Linked DNA regions of Homo sapiens: region 1 is linked to region 2. Evidence: promoter capture Hi-C in human tissues and cell types (Jung and others, 2019). All regions are on one chromosome and are shown on one strand. Each heading gives the region's core, a stretch centred on a gene start or on the middle of the fragment in contact. The rest is flanking DNA. Distances are from core to core; before and after follow the strand shown.

Region 1 (4,079 bases), core at 528-3,027, 560 kb before region 2:
ATTCGGGCCAGAAGCCTGCTGGAACCATCTTCTGCTCCGGAGAGCTCACAGTTAGGTGGCTCTGATGCCACATCGGCCATAGATGTGTTATGTTTGCCCCAAAGAATATTTTAAGACCATGTTTAGAATTAATTGGTACCTTTTTAAAATGCAGAGATTCACATTAAAGAGTGAGTTTCTGGCTTTTCTTGGAAAATGAGAAGATCTGGCCACACTGGGCCCATATAGGAACTGGAGTTGCCTCTCTCTGTTTCCTTCAGCTGGGGCCTGTGCCCCCCTGTTGGCCAGGCCCCACTGGCCTGCCTGGGGTCCCTGCCACCTCCGCAGGCACCTGGGTCTGCCTTTCTGCTGTTCTGTCACGAGGTGTGCCACTCAGCTTGGCTTTGAAGCCAGGCTGTGTTTGTGCATTGAATGCACGCCAAGCCCAGGCCTCCACTGATGGCTAAATACCTTTTCTGAATTGTAGGCAATATAAGATAAAAACGTGCTGCGGGAAGTGAGAAAAACTACATGCCCCCCCATGCTGAGTGCCCACAGGAGGCGCACGGGTAGTGCAGGAAAAAGGCAAATGGCCATAGTTCCTGAAACCAGCATAAATTAAAACAAAATACAAATCATACCCTGGCAAATGGCAAGTAACAGCCTATTGCCAGTATGCGAATCACGTTGTGATTTTTTAAAATTTGTTTTGTAATAAATAATTTGTTTGAATTTTGAGCTGCGTACTTTGGACATATGATAAGGAAGCTGTGGGGGAAGATTGTGTGTGTGTGTGTGTGTGTGTGCACACGCGCGCACCTGTGCATGTTTATGGGGGTGTGGACCACAGTTTACAAAGCTTGGAGTTTTCTATAGAAATTCAGTTTCAGAGTCTGGGTGCAGTGGCTCACACCTATAATCCCAGCACTTTAGGACACCGAGGTGTGCAGATTGCTCGAGTCCAGGAGTTTGAGAGCAGCCTAGGTAAATGGCAAAACCGCGTCTCTGCAAAATATACAAAAATTAGAGGGTCCTGGTGAACCACGCCTGTAGTCCCAGCTACTCGGGAAGCTGGTGTGGGAGGATCACTTGAGCCCGGGAGGTGGAGGTTGCAGTGAGCCGAGATTGTGCTACTATGCTCCAGCCTGGGTGACAGAGCGAGACCATGAAAAAAAAAAAAAGGAAAAAAGGAAGGAAGGAAGAAAGGAAGGAAAGAAGGAAAGAAACAAACTTCACTTTCAGAACATTTTTTCAAGACCAGCCTGGCCAACATGGTGAAACCCCATCTCTATTAAAAATACAAAACTTAGCCAGGCATGGTGGCGGGTGCCTGTAATTCCAGCTACTTAGGAGGCCAAGGCAGGAGAATCACTTGAACCCAGGAAGCGGAGGTTGCAGTGAGCCAAGATTGCACCTTTGTGCTCCAGCCTGGGTGACAAGAGTGAAATTCGGTCTCAAAAAAAAAAAGAACATTTTAATAAACTTTTATGATTAAAGGGTGAAAACATGTTTCTGTACCATAACGTTCAAATGTGAGGTCCACACTGGCAAACAGGTATTTATCTGTATTAAATATTATGTTCCATTTAAAGTATAACAATAATTCTCCGTGCCCATGGTCAGGTTGGGCAAATGACCACATTTCATGCTTGTGTGAGTTTTTGTTTGCAATCTGTATACTGCCCTTAGAGATACAGGTTCAAACAGGTGCAGGAAGCAGAGCTGCCAGCAAAGTGCAGGAGTCGACTCTTTTTCTTTTCTTTTCTTGCTTTTTTTTTTTTTTTTTTTTTAGCCAGAGTCTCGCTCTGTCACCCAGGCTGGAATGCAGTGGCTTGATCTCAGCTCACTGCAACCTCCACCTCCCGGGTTCAAGCAATTCTCCTGCCTCAGCCTCCCAAGTAGCTGGGAATACAGGTGTCTGCCACCATGCCCGGCTAATTTTTGTATTTTTAGTAGAGATGGGGTTTCACCATGTTGTCCAGGCTTGTCTCAAACTCCTGACCTCAGGTGATCCACCTGCCTTGGCCTCCCAAAGTGCTGGGGTTACAGGTGTGAGCCACTGCGCTCGGCCTCTAGACTCTTAATCTATGTTCTTTGAGTTACACCTGACAACTTTCCATCACACCTGGCTGCCTGGCTCAGGAACTGGAGGAAGGCGGCCAGTGCTGGCCAGGAATTTCTCAGAGGCCACTGGACAGTATTATGGAGTGGCCCCTGCCCCTCAGAGGCTCACTGTCCATAGCACAGGGGTCATCCATCCTGTCAGACCATGCTGACCCCACTCACGAGAGGCTAGCCCTGCAAGTTCTCCCCTGGGAACAGGAAGTAATCGTGCGAGGTTTACATGGCAGATCAGCTTGGTCTCGGGAGCTATTTCTACACAAATCACGTGGGGCTCAGAAGGCCATGCTCTGCTGCTCCCTGGACTCTGGCCCCTGTCCTGCGTGTCCTCCTTCCTCTGGTCCTCAGAGACTCCCCGTTCCCTGCCATATGCACACTTAGGGTGGGACCGGGATGTGCACTGTAGCCAGTTCTGTTCTTGTTTGTGTTGCTCAGAATCCATTGTTTCTTACTGATGCAGATCAGTGCCTAATACTAGGTGTCCAGCACCATGCTGGGAGCCAGGGATACAACAGACAGGTGCCTCCCTGGGGGATAAGTGGAGCACACGCAGGTAATAATCAGTGAACTGGGTAGCGCTTTGTTACAGGCCTCTCACAACTGGTATTTTATCTCCATCATATTGTAATTTTGTTTTTGTGGTGTGACCTAAAAAGCCTTGGATCCTCAAAAGATCTGGCCAAGTTCATGGTAAAGTTATTATTCCTTTAACAAATGCATTCATTTAACAATATTTATTAAGCACCTATTATTTGTCAGGTACCATTCCAGATGTCAGGATTATAACAGAGAACAAAACTGACAAATAGCACTGTTCTCTTGGTGCTTACATTGTTGTGGAAGGAGACAAAAAGAAATAATGTCAATATAATATGTCCTAAGAATTTTAAAGAAAAACTCAAGCAGGGTAAGGGAGAGAGAATGACGATGGGGAGGAGGGCCGCTCTTTGAGGAAGGCCCTTCTGGTGACCCTTGAAGCAGAGCCCAGCAAGAGGGGAGGGGGAAGCTGTGGTTTGGAGGAAGTCTTTTCATAGCGGGGAGCCTCAAGGGCAGAGCCCCCGAGGGGGAGTGTGCCCTACCTGTTGGAAGGAAGCCACTGATCTGCAATCCTGTTTTCCTCGTCTGCAAATTAATGGGCTTGTTGGGAGGGACAAATGAAATCATTTATATGAAAACATTTATGTCAACTGTAGAACACTCTATAAAAGTTATTCTCTTTATGTTGACTTCATCAAGTATTTGCAGTGTCTAAAGCAGGAATGATCATAATGATTATATTACAATTCTGCCCTTTCATTTTTTTTATTGAGGTGAAATGCATATAACATATAATTAATCATTTTATAGCCTACAATTCAGTGGCATTTGGTGCATTCACAATGTTGTGCAACCACCACCGCTTTCTATTTAAAAACCTTTTTCATCATCCCCACCTTTTCTTTCTTTTCTTTTTAAAATAGAGATGGTGTCTCCCTACATTGCCCAAGCTGGATTAGAACACCTGGGCTCAAGTGATCCTCCAACCTCAGTCTCCTGAGTAGCTGGGATTATAGGCACTCACCACTGTGCCTGGCCTTTCATTTTTATTTTATTTTATTTTATTAATTATTATTATTATTTAGAGACAGGATCTCACTCTGTTGCTCAGGCTGGAATGCGGTGGTGTGATCATGGTTCCCTGCGGCTTCCACCTGCTGGGCTCAAGCAATCCTCCCACCTCAGCCTCCCAAATAGCTGAAACTATAGACATACGCCACAGTGCCTGGCTAATTTTTGTATTTTTTGCAGAGCCGTGGTTTCATCTTGTTGCCCAGGCTGGTCTTGAACTCCTGGGCCTAAGTGATCCTCCTACCTTGGCTTCCTCCAGTGCTGGTATTACAGGCGTGAGTCACTGTGCCTGGCCTTTTTTATTTTTATTTTTTGACACAGAGTCTCACTCTGTCACCAGGTAGGACAGTGGTGCAATCTCGGCTCACTGC
Region 2 (4,093 bases), core at 1,519-4,018:
GATTTTGCTAGGAATACGGAAAGCTTATTCATTATAATAGGAAAGAAGGCTAGGTATATGCCACAGATATGGGTCAGTGAGACATAATGGTGGTAGCTGATCGAAGTTTTCTAATGCTTCTACATTTTTCAGCAAATAATAGAAATTTGTCAGCTGAGAGTGAGGGTGGGACAGAAGGATGTTACAGGAGAAGGTGGAAAACAATCATCTGGAAGACTCAGAGTAAAGAGACCAGGGGCCTGGCGCAGTGTAATCCCAGCACTTTGGGAGGCCAGGGTGGGCGGATCACCTGAGGTCAGGAGTTGAAGACCAGCCTGGCCAACATGGTGAAACCTTGTCTCTACTGAAAATACAAAAAGTAGAACAGGTGTGGTGGCTCACACCTATAATCCCAGCACTTTGGGAGGCCGAGGTGGGAGGATCACTGGAGGTCAGGGGTTCGAGATCAGCCTGCCCAACATGGCGAAACCCCATCTCTACTAAAAATACAAAAAATTAGCCGGGCGTGGTGGCGGGAGCCTGTAATCCCAGCTACTCGGGAGGCTGAGGCAGGAGAACCGCTTGAACTCGGGAGGCAGAGGTTGCAGTGAGCCAAGATTGCACCATTGCACTCCAGCCTGGGCAATGAGAAACTCCATCTCAAAAAACAAAACAAACAACAACAAAAAAAACAGGGAAATACGGTTGACTGTCAGGAAACATTAAGGTGCCACTGAAGTTACTGATGATCCAAAGTCCACAATTCCAAAGCCATTGCCATGAGATGAAAGCAACTGGCATCTTGGCCTGAAGCCTTTACAAATCTGGTTCACATAACTAATTTCTCTCATGCTGATTTCATGCTTACCACATACATTTCTGACTATGATCAGGTTTTCCACTTAAGTCTTTTTTTTTTTTTTGAGACAGAGTCTCGCTCCTGTTGCCCAGGCTAGAGTGCAATGGTGTGATCTCGGCTCACCACAACCTCTGCCTCTCATGTTCAAGCGATTCTTCCGCCTCAGCCTCCTGAGTAGCTGGGATTACAGGCATGCGCCACCACGCCCGACTAATTTTGTATTTTTAGTAGAGACAGGGTTTCTCCATGTTGGTCAGGCTGGTCTCAAATTCTCGACTTCAGATTATCCACCTGCCTTGGCCTCCCAAAATGCTGGGATTACAGGCGTGAGCCACCACACCTGGCTAGTCTTCTTTTAAAAAGAGAAGGACCGAGCCTGCTGGCTTATGCCTGTAATCCCAGCACTTTGGAAGGCCAAGGTGGGTGGATCACTTGAGGTCAGGAGTTCGAGAGCAGTCTGGCCTACATGGTGAAACCCCTTCTCTACTAAAAGTACAAAAAAAAATTAGTCGGGCCTGGTGGCGGGCGCCTGTAATCCCAGCTACTTGGGAGGCTGAGGCAGGAGAATCGCTTGAACCTGGGAGGCGGAGGCTGAAGTGAGCCGAGATTGCACCACTGCACTCCAGCCTGGGTGATAAAACAAGACTGTCAAAAAAAAAAAAAAAAAAAAAGAGAGAGAGAGAAGGCACTGGGCATGAAGACTTGAAGTATTCTGGTTTCTGAAAGGAATTTCTCACCATAAATTAACGTTTCGTTATCTTTTTGTATATAAGAAGTTCAAAGTGTTGAGTGGTTAAGGCAGGTGCACATTCATACCGATTCTAGAACTTCCACATCTCCCAGGCTTTGCTTCAAATGACTCCTTACACTGCTCTACAGCTTGACCAACACGATGGACCCGTATGATGCAGCACGGGACTCCAAGGCAGGACACCTGGCTTCACAGACAGCTCAGGCAATTAGCTTTCCTTGTCTGTTTCTCCATCTGTAAAGCTCCCTAAAGCTCCTTCCACAGCTCAAATTCAATTTTAGGAACCTACCTCAAGGGATTCATATTTGCACAGACCACCAACAGCTATGATAAAATAACTGATGGATCAGCAGAGGTTTAAGGTGTAGGCTGGAAAGGGAGGAGCCAAGAATAAAAAGCTACATTTCAAAACCCCCACATCTGTTGCTTTGTTACCGGGGCTTCAACAATTTCCAAACTCAGGTGCCACCAGTGCCTAGTCTCTATCTAGCACATCCCAATTCCGCCTTTCGGGAACTTCGAGTTGGTTTAAAATCGTGCTGCATATTCCTATTTTTGATTTGGCATCCAAGCGGTACCCGGTGGGCATTTCAAAGTCCCCACATCCTAAATCTCAAAACTCAAGTTTGATTCTTCATCTCACAGCCACCGAGAACTCTGCTCCAGGGGAAGTGGAAATTGGAAGCGCTCCACTTTCGGTTCTAGGCGCCGAGGAACTCGGGCGAGAGCGTGGAGCACGGCTGCAGGGCGGGAGGGGTGCGGGACTCACATTTCTCAATTAGAGCCTCCTCGCAGTCTAGGCCGAAGATCTGCAGCTCCTCCGCCAGCTGCTGGGCGGATGCGGACATGGTCGCCCAAGCCAGGGGCCGGGGAGCCGGCCCACCCAGCTCCGACCTGCGCCCAAGAAGCCCACGGGGGTGGCGAGCGATGAGCTCCTCGCCCTCTTATCCTTCCCCCCTCCGCGGACCGTGACAGGAGGTGACTGGCCCAAGCAAGACCTCAGACCGTCAGAAGGCCCCGGCCGTCGGTCACAGAGAAATACTTTTTTTAAAAAATGAAGGGGTGGCTCCCAAACGCCCTGAATGGAGGGAGCAGAAATCTCGAGAGGACGCTCTCCTGGTGAGAACGTCCTGCTTCCCAAAAGCTACCGCTGAGCTTCTCAGTGACGGTGGCAGAACTGAGTGGCCGGAAAAACCCGCCAAATGGTTTGTGCAGTGCACGCATGCGCGAAACCGGGAGCCAACCCCAAACCTTCCCCTTGCTTTCCCCGGCTCATTCCGGAACCCCACGCGCGCACGCGCGGCCCAGGGCGCGTGCGCATCAGCGGGCGTGTGGGCGTCTCTACGCACGCGCCTGGCGGCCCGCCAGTCAGCAGCTGCGCAGTTCTCTCTCACGGCGCGAGAATGCCGGTTGTGACTCGCAACGCCCGGGAGTTGCCTACAAGGAAACTGAGTCTGTGTGCGGATGCCTGTTTTCTGGGCATCGGCTGCTCGATAAAACTCAGTGGCGCATGTTTGTCACCCTTTTGCCCTGTTCCGTGGTGCGCAGGCGTTGTCGTGCGCGTGCCTTCGACTATCTAAAACTTACTGTACCCCCTTCTCCATTCCCCTTGTCATCTCTGCCTGTTGTGCCCTTGGTTCATCCTAAAAGAATGGCTTCAGTAGGGAATCTGGTTGCCATGGTTATTATCGTGCTTATCACCGTGGTGCCAGCCACAGTGATGGGTATGTTTTCTGAATCTGGGGCATTTGGGGGGATATGAGGTGGGAAGGTGACGGATAATTTAGTTTTGGACACGTTAAGTTTGAGTGCCTCTGGGATTTCCAGGTAGAGATTCCCAGTGGGTGACTGGAGGCTTGGGAGTGAAGGTAGGTCACTCAAGGATAGAGTTTAGGGGTAAGATGAGAAGAGGGTTCTCCCCTTGAAATACACCGTAATTCTTTGAGCCAAAAATCTCAACCGTAGGCGTCATACAATGCTGGTGGGATGGTATAGAGCGTTTCGAGAAAACAATTTAGCAATATGTATCAGGAACCTTTAAAATGTCCATCCCAGGCCAGGTGCGGTCACTCACGCCTGTAATCCCAGCATTTGGGAGGCCGAGGCAGGCGGATCACTTTGTAGCAGGACGAGCCACAGACAAAACTCCTCAGACACCCGAGTTAAAGAAGGAAGGGGTTTATTCGGCTGGGGTCATCGGCAAGACTCCTGTCTCACCAGCCGAGCTCCCCGAATGAGCAATTCCTGTCCCTTTTAAGGGCTCACAACTCTAAGGGGGTGCGCCTGAGAGGGTCGTGATCAATTGAACAAGCAGGGGGTACGTGACTGGGGGCTGCATGCACCAGTAATTAGATCAGAACAAAACAGGATAGGGATTTTCACAGTGCTTTTCTATACAGTGTCTGTAATCTATAGATAACATAACTGATTAGGTCAGGGGTCCATCTTTACCAAGCCTAGGGTGTGAGGCCGGGCTGTCTGCTTGTGGATTTCATTTCTGCCTT

The links. Contacts are between HindIII fragments. The study calls those that stand out against the background at their distance.
Region 1: a contact is called between a fragment that was not itself captured here and the fragment with the promoter of POLA2 in region 2, in 2 of the 25 tissues and cell types used here (aorta and bladder).

Annotation. Positions count from the first base shown.
Region 1 is chr11:65,819,654-65,823,732 of GRCh38, reverse strand. The region is part of intron 3 of LOC124902693; the gene reads left to right. Among named protein-coding and RNA genes, the nearest start is that of SNX32, 12 kb to the left of the region's middle. The HindIII fragment of the contact is 8,424 bases long and covers 1-4,079 here.
Region 2 is chr11:65,260,637-65,264,729 of GRCh38, reverse strand. It overlaps POLA2 (DNA polymerase alpha 2, accessory subunit), which reads right to left and starts at 2,768. Exons shown (of 18, transcript NM_002689.4): 1 at 2,359-2,768. The coding sequence starts at 2,437. RefSeq lists enhancers at 1,857-2,742, 2,499-2,748, 2,743-3,630. The HindIII fragment of the contact is 14,798 bases long and covers 1-4,093 here.